Linked DNA regions of Homo sapiens: region 2 is linked to region 1. Evidence: promoter capture Hi-C in human tissues and cell types (Jung and others, 2019). All regions are on one chromosome and are shown on one strand. The core of a region is centred on a gene start or on the middle of the fragment in contact, and the rest is flanking DNA. Distances in the headings are between cores, read along the strand shown. Region 1 holds the start of POMGNT2 (protein O-linked mannose N-acetylglucosaminyltransferase 2 (beta 1,4-)). Region 2 overlaps ANO10 (anoctamin 10).

Region 1 (5,375 bases), core at 117-2,616:
CGCCCTGCCTTTTTAAGCTGTTTTAAATAGGTGTATGGTGATATCTCAGCATAGTCTTAATTTGCATTTCCTTTATGGCTAGTGATGAACATCTGTCCTTATTTGCCATCTGTATAACTACTTTGGTAAAATATATATTAATGTCTTCTGTATATTTAAAAACTTATGATCCAGGATACAGTTTATCTTAATATATATACCAAGGTTGCTTGAAAAGAATGTGTATTCTGTTGGTGGGTGAAGTATTATGTAAATATCAATTAGATTAGGATGGTATTAGTGTTGATCTTTTCTATATCCTTGCTGACTTTCTGTCTAGTGTTCTATCAGTTGTTGAGAGAGGGATGCTGAAGTTTCCAATTACAGTTGCAGAGTTGTCTATTTCTAATTATGGTTCTATCATTTGATTTATTTATGTTAAGGCTATGTCGTTAGGTGTATCCACATTTAGAATTATGTCTTCTTGGTGAATTGAACCTTTTATCATTATATAATTATCCCTTTTTTATTCTTGGTAATTTTCCTTGCTGTCAATTCTACTCTCTCTGAAAGTAATATCACCACTTCAGCCTTTCAGTTTATTATCATCTAAACAACACTATTCAGCCTTTGCAGTCATCCACAATTATTAGAATTTCTTGGTTAGAGGCTTTTGACTACATGTTTTTAAAGGTTTTTGGCTGTATTGACAAATTGCCCTGCAAAAATTTACCAACTTAATACCTTAACATTTGGGCTAATTTAAAATAATCATAAATTAAAGTCAGGGCTTTCCCAATTTGATAGGTAGAAATCTTATAACTCTATGGAGGTGGAGTTGGTGGTGGTAGGTGCATCTCTAGATGACTTAAGTTCAAAAAAAGTCAAGAGATCTAAAAAAGAAGTCAAAAGATCTAAAATTCATAACTCAAGAAATAGGGGCATATGTATATTCGGAGAATCCGCGGGAATGCCAGATGCCACAGCCATAAGTAGCTGCCCTTGAGGACTGGACAGCCAGGACTGGACGGTGGGATAAGGTGACAGCTGGTTAATGGAATGGTGCCGCAGAGGACTGGTGCTTTTGTAAGTTCTCTGTAGCATTACAATTTTTAAAAGCATGTAAACGTATTAATTACCTTGACTTTACAATGACATTTGGTTGTTGGTTAAACTTGCATTTAAATTTATTATCAGAACTGCCATAACTGTGTAATCCTAACACTAAGTAAAACTCAGCCTCTCGGCGCAAATTATCACTCCCAACATTCCGCAGGCTGGTGGCGGCGCGGGCTGTCCTCGTACGCAAAACTACACCTCCCAGGATTCCGCGAGCCAAGGTTGTGGCCGGGGCCAGGGCAACCGAACTCGCGGCTCTGCGCAGGCGCACAGGCTCCGCGCCGGGCTCGCCCGCCGGGCAGGCGCACGGCGGACACCTGCGAGCCTGGAGGTGGCGGTCGCTGCGAACCCGGCGGCGCGGCCAAACCTGTGCTGGCTGCCTGGGCCTTCTGGGCCTCCTGGGCCAGAAGCTGGCGCTGGGGGCGGCGGCGGGGTGGGAAAGCGGCGCCGCCGTGGGGCCTCCTGGACGCGTCGGCGGAGGTGGCTTCGTCCCGCGGAGTCCAGGCTTCAGGTAAGACGCGCGCGCGCTTGGGGCTGGAGCGGACTCCGACACCCGCCTGGGACTTGAAGTGGAGGTGTCGAACCCTCGGCCCCCTGGAGGGGACGACGCGGTGCTGGGCCCCGGGGTGAGGGGGAGGTTCTAGGACGCCTTCGGGATCCAGGAGAGTTTGCAGAACTGAGGGGTGACGTGTGAAGCGAGCTGAGGGAGGCGCGGGAGGTGGGCGGGGCGGGGGTGGACCCTCAGGGTCGGGGGCCGGGGATTGGGGGTCGGGGGCCGGGGGCCGGGGACCTGGGCAACGCCCTGGGGCTTGCCAGTTCGAGCCCTCAGCTCGTGGCAGGCACTGGCGTCGGGTCCTCAGGCCCTTTTGCTTTGGGAGGTGATGGGTGGTGCACATTTGGCGGGGGTGGTGGGGAGCCACGCGAGGTGCGCGGAGCGGGCCTGGGCCTCCCCAACTGCCTTTGAAGGCAGAACCCCGGCAGGCCTGCAGCTGATTCCTGGGCGCTTTGGGGGCCAGTAGGGCACCTACCATGTGTGTCCGGTGGTAAGAGCTTGCCACGGCCTGCTTGGCAGTGCCAGAGTAGCCTCTGAAGAAGGAACCCAGTGAACTCCTGACTCCATGTGTGTGTTTAGGAACCCGTCTCCAGCTCACTGATGGGAACTCTCTGCTAAAGTATGTGACCGTCAGGCCAGAGTCTTGCACCAGGTGCAGGGCGACCAGTGTCTGCCTACTTTATTGCCAGCCAACACTTAGAGCGTACTCTTGGGAGAAGCAAGGCTCCGCGTGGAAAAGGATGACTTCAGGGTTATGGGGCGAGCTTGATAGGACTTAGTAGCTAAGAGCATAGACAGAGGAGGTTTCATTCACCAAATGTTTACTACAATATGTGCCCCGCCTTCAAATCTTGGTTCTCGGCTACTAGCGGTGTGCGTTTAAGCAAGTCACTTATCCTCTCTTAGCCTCTGTTTCTTTCTCTGTGAAGTGGAGATGAAAGTACAGTGCCTTTATCACGGGGTTGCAGTGGGGATGAAATAGTGCCAGGCAAGTCCTCAGCCCAGTATGTCTAACAGTAAGTGTGTGGCAAATATCAGCAGTCGTGGTGACTAACGACAGAAAGTGTTAGAGGTGCTTGGAGTCCAGGTTCATCTTTAATGGTACTAGCTGCCCTCTCTGGCTCTCATGAATCTTGCAGATCTTCCAGCTCATCCTTTCAATATTAATTTTGAGGAATCTCAGTCCCTGCAGAGCTAGGAAAGAGCATAGGTCCCCTCATCCCCAGGGGTGGTCAGCACGTTCCTTCCTGAGCCTTGGGCCCCTGCGAGAACGAGAAGGAGAGTGGAGATCTTCAGCAGAAAGGAGGGCATGGTGCTGGTGGCTGGGCCCACCGTGGCCATGTAAGCATGCTAGTTGGCAAGTTCTTGCTCTGAGCCTTGCTTTAGAAAATATTTAGCAATAAACAAAGCCTTCTAGTAAATATTGCACTAACTAGAAAATTAGATTACCAAATCCCCCATTCCAAGGGTCCTTGCCAATCTCAGCTTGGTTGTCAGTGGGATACTTTCCCCCCAGGACCTACCAATCACGTGATTCCCAGGGTTTCTTAAATTGGATGAAATAATGAATGTGAAAGGTGGAACCTGCAAATGTCATCACGGGCTTTGGAGTCCGTCTTGGTTTTGAATCCTAACCCCTCTACTTAATTGCTGTGTATCACTGGGCAATTCACTTAATGCCTCTAAGCATACCTTCTTAAATGTGAAATTGAATTAATAGCATTTACTTCAGGTAGTGGGGAATAAATGAGATAATGCGTGTAAAACAGTTAGCACTGTGCCTGGCTGAGAGTGAAAGCCAGTGAACAGGAGTTATTTTACCATTACGATTAATAATAATATTAGAAAAATAATTGTCAGACATGGTGTTTTGCCTTTGCTGTCTCTTTGAATTCACAAAACTACCCTGTGAAGTAGGTATAATTGTGTTTTTCAAGCCAGGAAGTGAAGGCTTGGAGAGGTAAAGAATTGGCCTAAGGTCACTTAGCTGCTAAGTGACAGGGATGGGAATTCATATCCTGGCATCTCCAGCTCCAGAACTGGTGCCATGTAATTCTCCTTCTCTGCTGCCCATCGTCCTTGCTGTTCTTGCATTCTTGAAGCCCAGTTATGACCTGGGGCAGCCTCCAGTCTTGCAGCAGGGAGTCTTCCCGCACCAAGTGGGTCAGAGGCAGGACCCTGCAGCCTGGCTGTGTGTTTCCTCTCTGTGGCTGGTGTTGGATGCATGGTGAAGCTGTAGGGGACAGTCCCTGAGTGAGTTCAGGGGAGGAGGTGTTAGGAAGAGGCAGCCCAGGCAAGCCCTGTCGCCTCTTTAGGGTCTCATCACTGGACAGCAGGGCTGGGTGAGGGGGCAGTGCTGGGTGAGGGTGCAGGCTGGGTGGGATCTGGGAAGCTTGTGTATGAGAAGAAATGCCTTCGTTTAGCTCCTGGGAAATGTTCTGGGGCTGCATAATTCTCTGAGCCTTATCTTTGCTTTGTGAGGGAGAGCAGCCCTTGAGCTGTGGATAAGGGAGGAGAAGGAGCCCTGGACTGAGAGCCAACATTCTGCCATTTTAATCCTGGCTGCCTGTGAGAGCTCACACTGCCTCTCCAGACCTCTTTTATGAAATAAAGAGTTGGAGGAAATCATTTCTAAGGGTTCTTGTAGCTCTAAAGGGCAGTGGTTTTGTAATTCTAAATTGATGGCCTAACCCTCTCAGCACAGTACCAGGGCACATGGGATAAATTATCACACTAGTATGTTACTTAGACTCTCCTTAGGGTGAGAGAATGGCCACAGCTCCCTAAGCCACCTGTCACAGCTGGGTACCCTCTGCCTGGCTGGGTGGGGAGGAATTACAGCAAGAAGCCTTGGGTTGCTAAGTTACAGTCCAGGGCCTGTGGTTCTACATTTCCAGGGCCACCACACCTGCTCTGCCCTTGACTAATAAAAACTCACTGCTCTACAGTCTACTCTGCTTATCTGCCATTGAGTGTTCCTCCAAGTCTGATGACAGATGAGCACGGTACTAAGAACAAGACCTTAGTGAGAGGCAGGTTCAAATCCTGGTGGCCCTTCTTGAGCTTTAAGACCTTAAGCAAGGTACTTAACTCCACTAAAACTTGGTTTTCTCATGTTAAAAGAAAATGGGGATAATATTGGTACTGCATTGGAGGGTGAGGCTTAAATGAAATAGGTCAGGAAAAAGGCTTAAGACAGCGCCTCTCGCATAGTAGGTGCTCAGTAAAGTAAGATGGTGAGACCATTCATCTTTATCCCCTACCCAGAGGCCAACATCCTTTTTTTCTTAGTTAACCTGGACAAGTCCTTTTGTTTTCTCTGGCTTCCCATGTCTGCACTGGTACATACTCCAGCACCTCTAAGAGAATCAGATCTTTCACTCTGCCAGTGGTGACTGCCATTGGTACAAGCTTATGCTACAAATTTATCTGTTTTCTCCATTCTGAAAAGGCTAAGAGAAGGCCCCTTCTTTGCTGTGTAGTTGCTCCTCAGCCCTGAGCTAAGCCTTAGGAAGGGACTGGGGACCTGGTCTGCTGTATTGCCACACCCAGTGATGAAACACACCCCGGGGTCCTTTGACAGTGGAGGTTTGTGGCAGGAATCATGGCACATCCTGGAGTGGCATCTGGAGTTGCCACAGTTGTGCTGGGTCCCAGAGCTTCCAAGAGAGTCACACAGTAGCCATTGTAAGGAACTGGAGATGCTGTCCAAATTTGCTCTGTT
Region 2 (5,056 bases), core at 1,588-4,087, 340 kb before region 1:
TCTGTCTTCCATTTCTTATCTGGGCACTATCCCATCATTGTCGCTCCATCCTTATGACCTTGTCTAAACCTAATTACCTCCCTAGCACCCTACTTCCTAAAACCATCGTGTTGGAGGTTAGCACTTCAAAATGTGAATTTGTGGGGACACAGAAATTCAAGCCATAACAATGCATTTGTGAAAACCTGTATAGTGAACCCTAATGTAAACTATGGGCCTTGGTTGATAATAAAGTATCAGTATTGGTACATCAATTGTAGCAGATGAACAATACAAATGTTAGACCTTAATAATAGGGGAAACTGGGAGAATGACAGGTATACAGCAACTCTCTACTTTCTGTGTAGTTTTTCTACAAAACTAAAACTGCTTTAAAAATAAAATCTCAATAAAAAATAGTAGAACTTCATTAGAATTTAACATGTTCTAATATATAGATCCAATTTAAGCCAAAAAATGAGTTATTTGTACTTGTACAGAACTGGAATCAGTGTCTTTCTTCTTCTTTCTTCCCTTTTCTCCAATCCCTCAACCTTCTCAAATGCTTTTCATTATGAACAGAAAGTTTACAAAAAAAGCAAAATGCAAATGGCGGTTAAGTGTGTGAATAGGTGCTCAACATCATTCAGAGTAAGATAGGCAAGTGGAAACTAAACTGAAACACCTATTGTCACCTTATCAGATTGGCAGAAATCCACCAGAGGGATATCACCTTGGGTCGACAAGGCTGTGGAGGACCAGGGAGTCTCATATTCAGCTGTTGATTGTACATGCGTGCTTAATACCATGTACGGAACAATTTGACAGAATCTACTTATATTACAACTGTGTATATCCTTTGACCGAGCAGTTCTGTCTTTGGGAATGTATTCCACAAATATACTTGCCTGTGCACAAAATGACAAATGTTGGAGGAAATTTATTGCAGCACCCTTACTAATAACAAAAATATTGGAAATAGTGTAAATGTCCATCACTGGTCGATAAAGTATGGGTGCTGTCTAGGTACTAATATGGAAAGATCTCTAATATTAGGAAATACAAAAAAGGAAAATGCTGAACAGTATTTCTGTATGCTCCTTTTATATAAACATGGAGAAAATATTAATATATTCTGATTGTACATGTGGGCAGGAGGCACAGTGGGGCATTGGGAAGATGAGGGCAGGGGTAGGGGTATCACTTTATACCTTTTTTCCTAACCATGTGACTGTATTACCTTCAAACTATAGTTCAAAAAGATATAGGTATATACATTTTTTAATAATAAATTCAGAATAGCTAGGATAAATCGCTTTTGCTGTTGTTAAACCTTAAAAATTATTTTTATCTACCTATGAATATTCATCTTCCCTCGAGTGTTTTCGGTATGGCAAGTTCTGAGTTGTTAAAATTGATTGTTATTGTCACTTTGTAACTGAGAGGGTCTCCCTAGTGAAAACCTGACTTTCTCAAAGAAGTAGTTCAAATTTCTCCTTACTTTTCTGACAGTAGTGTGCCTCAAGCATATCTTAAGAACATAACAAGTAATAAACCATAAACCAGTATTTTCTTCAAGAAAATATATCAGCGGAGAACAGAAAATGTTATCTTTGAAAAAAATATGCAGTTATAAAAAGTTGTAACTCTTTTTTGTTACAAACTCTCTGTTCAATTGTATGAAGTTGCTCTCTCTCAGAGCAAAGACTTGCCAGTTGGCTTTACTTCTTTCATCCCCTTTCTTCTATATCCACTGCCTCTGTACATTTTTCCCACTTCCCTTGCTCTGACAAAGATATCAAAGGTTACATTAAAGCAAAACCTGAGAAGCTTGAGTTATTGCTGATAAGTTCAACAAGGAGTAAATTTAAATGCAATCTGAGAAGTAGAAGATGGGAAGCATTCCTTCCTGAATCCACATGCTCTGTTAGGCCCTAAGGCACAATAAAATGTGGGACATGAACCCTGGGCCCCGAAGCTGATGACAGTGGAGGTCACAAAGTGATCACCCACTCTAAGAATTCTACACACAGTGATATCTATACGTTTCTCTCTCCGCCAGGCTTCTTGTCTTTACTCTCATCAGTGTTTGGACAGCTCCTGACAGAACAAAGGCTGGGTTTGGTGTTCTGTAATCCCAGCTCTTTGGGAGGCTGTGGGAAGATTGCTTGAGCTCAGGAGTTCAAGACCAGCCTGGGCAACATGGCAAAACCCCGTCTCTACAAAAAATACAAATATTAGCTGGGTATGGTGGTGCACACCTGTAGTCCCAGCTACTCTGGAGGCTGAGGTGGGAAGATCACTTGAGCTCGGCAAGCAGAGGTTGTAGTGAGCTGAGATAGTGCCACTACACAGCCTGGGTGACAGAGTGAGACCCCGTCTCAAAAACAAAAAATACAAAAAAAAAATGCATTGCCTGTGTTGTAGGCAATGATATTTCTAATGTAAGGAAACATGGTCATAGATTTGGGAGATGTAGGTCATTTTCAGGATATTCACCCTTAACCTGAGAACTGGTTTAGCAGATTTTGCTGAGTTGTTTTTAGATGGTTTGTTTGGAATCCTAGTTTAATTATTCATTGTTTTACCTGTGATTTTGGGATAAATATATATGATAAAGTAAAAGTCTTTTTAAAATAAAGTTTTTAATTTTAAGATAGTTTTAGATTACAGAAAAGTTAACAAGCTAGAACTGATAGTTCCCATATACACCATAGCTAGTTTCCCCTACTTTTAACATCTAACACTGGTATGGTACACTTGTTATAATTAGTGAACAACTATTAATATTATTAACTAAAGTTCATGCTTTATTCAGATTTCCTTAGTTTTTATCTGATAAGACTCATCTTGTATATTTCCTGCTGCGGTCCTAGACTCAGCCATTTTTCCAAGGAGCTCTGGTTCCTTTGTTTTGGACAATGGTATTAGAAACCAAGATCTGTGTGCATCTCTTAACTTTTTTTTTTTTTTTTTTTTTTGAGGCAAAGTCTCACTCTGTAGCCCAGGCTGGAGTGCAGTGGTGCAATCTCAGCTCACTGCAAGCTCCTCCTCCCGGGTTCATGCCATTTTCCTGCCTCAGCCCACGGAGTAGCTGGGACTATAGGCACCTGTCACCAGGCCTGGCTAATTTTTTGTATTTTTAGTAGAGACGGGGTTTCACCGTGTTAGCCAGGATGGTCTCGATCTCCTGACCTAGTGATCCGCCCGCCTTGGCCTCCCAGCATCTCTTAACTTTTAACCTGAATCCCTCTATTTAAGATGGATTTCTTGCAGTTAACATAGTTGAGCCTTGCTTTTTATTCTAACTCTGACATATATTTAGGCCACCTGGAGTGTCCTGCACCCTGCCGTCCTCGCCATGACTGTGTCAGGTGACCACAGGAGGTCGATTGTGTGTTCTCCTTGCACTGTTGTAGAGCCACCCACTTTCCTGTGGCCCCTGCGGTACCACATCTGCCTTATAGCTAACAGTTTAAGGTTTACAAGTGTGTATTTCTCTATTGTGACTTAAATTCTCACTTGATACAATTAAAGTAAATGAAGTAAGTATATAGTAGAATGAAATCATAATCTTAAGATATCACTTTGCTTTGTAGGCCTTAGTTAGAGAATATTTCTGGGCACACAGTTTTTATATGTTCCTTGGTTTTTTTACTTGTCAAGTGATCAAAATAATTGTTGAAAAAACAAAGCAAGCTCCAAATCACACATAACCCTCTTACAGATTTTATTTCCTTTCACCATCATCAGATCTGCTCTAGAAACTGCTTTGTGCATGAAATGTGGCTCTGAATGAGAGGAAAACAAACTTTAACACATGTAAATTGCTTTAAGCTGTATAAGATGTGTTCTTTGGTGACACAGGGCATGCCAAAGCCTTGAAAGCCAGCTTTCTCACCCTAGGGACAAATGACAACCCCATCATTCAGTGTCCCTCAACTACAACAAGCCTCTTGATTAGCAGGTCCCTACAATGGAGATTATATTTTAAGAGAGAAGAGCCAATGAGACACATGATTTAATTTGTCTGTAACCCTTTAGATTATTTTCTTGCATTAATTTGGTCTAATTGATATTTCCCCCAATCACCTTTTCTATTAAATGATGAAATAGAGAAGGATCCGGGTGCAGTGACTCATGCCTGTAATCCCAGCACTTTGGGAGGCCGAGGCAGGTGGATCACTTGAGGTCAGGAGTTCGAGACCCGCCTGGCCAACATGGTGAAACCCGTCTCTACTAAAAATACAAAAAAATTAGCCAGGCGTGGTGGTGCATGCCTGTAATCCCAGCTACTCAGGAGGCTGAGGCAGGAGAATCGTTGGAACCTGGAAGGTGGAGGTTGCAGTGAGCCGAGACTGTGCCATTGCACTCCAGCCTGGGCAACAAGAGTGAAACTCCGTCAAAAAAAAAAAAAAAAAAAAGAAGGAAGGAAGTAAAATACTTTTCATGCTTTCATACTGAGCAGTTCTCCCTCTCTCATTGTTTTGACTCTTCTAACATATTCCCTTTTTTCCCTGTATACTTCTTTTAGATTCCAGCTATTAATATTTATTGAGACTCAGAAACCAATACCCCCAAATACTGCACTTTGACATGCTGAACTGAAAAGGGAGCCTCAAGGTCTCCCTGATCTCCCCCATACTGTCTCTCCCAAAGCATTAGATTCTCTAAAGTTCCCTTGTCTGCCTAAAGTCCAGACCTACCAAAGAAGAAAACAATTAACTGCTGGTCACTTCCCTGAGTTCTCATTAACTGAATCCATATCACATCTTTTCTCCTGTTAATCTGCTTTTTGTGAGTTGTTTTTTCAGCAAAGCTTCAAGGGTTTGCTGTACATCTTTTAAGACCAACTCCTTGTTCACTCGACTGATCTTGGAAAGTCACCCATGCAGGCAGCCCAGAGGCCTAGGCCTTTTGTGATATTAGTGGTTCCCTGTCATTCCCTGTGTGGATCCTCAGCACACTAGGAATGGAGCTTGGTTGGAGTGGAGCAAGGTGAGCTGGGTCATAGACACAGCCCTGCCCTGAAGACGTCTTCTCAGGGTGACCACCAGGGCATAGGGCCTGAAGACAC

What was found. The method cuts DNA at HindIII sites, captures the fragments that hold promoters and counts their contacts. A contact is called where the count stands out against the background at its distance.
Region 2: a contact is called between a fragment that was not itself captured here and the fragment with the promoter of POMGNT2 in region 1, in 1 of the 25 tissues and cell types used here (hippocampus).

The regions. Positions count from the first base shown.
Region 1 is chr3:43,102,070-43,107,444 of GRCh38, reverse strand. POMGNT2 (protein O-linked mannose N-acetylglucosaminyltransferase 2 (beta 1,4-)) reads left to right here and starts at 1,366. Exons shown (of 2, transcript NM_032806.6): 1 at 1,366-1,609. RefSeq lists a silencer at 1,279-1,598. The HindIII fragment of the contact is 11,007 bases long and covers 1-4,553 here.
Region 2 is chr3:43,443,027-43,448,082 of GRCh38, reverse strand. All of the region lies in intron 11 of ANO10 (anoctamin 10), which reads left to right. Among named protein-coding and RNA genes, the nearest start is that of SNRK-AS1, 94 kb to the right of the region's middle. The HindIII fragment of the contact is 5,138 bases long and covers 269-5,056 here.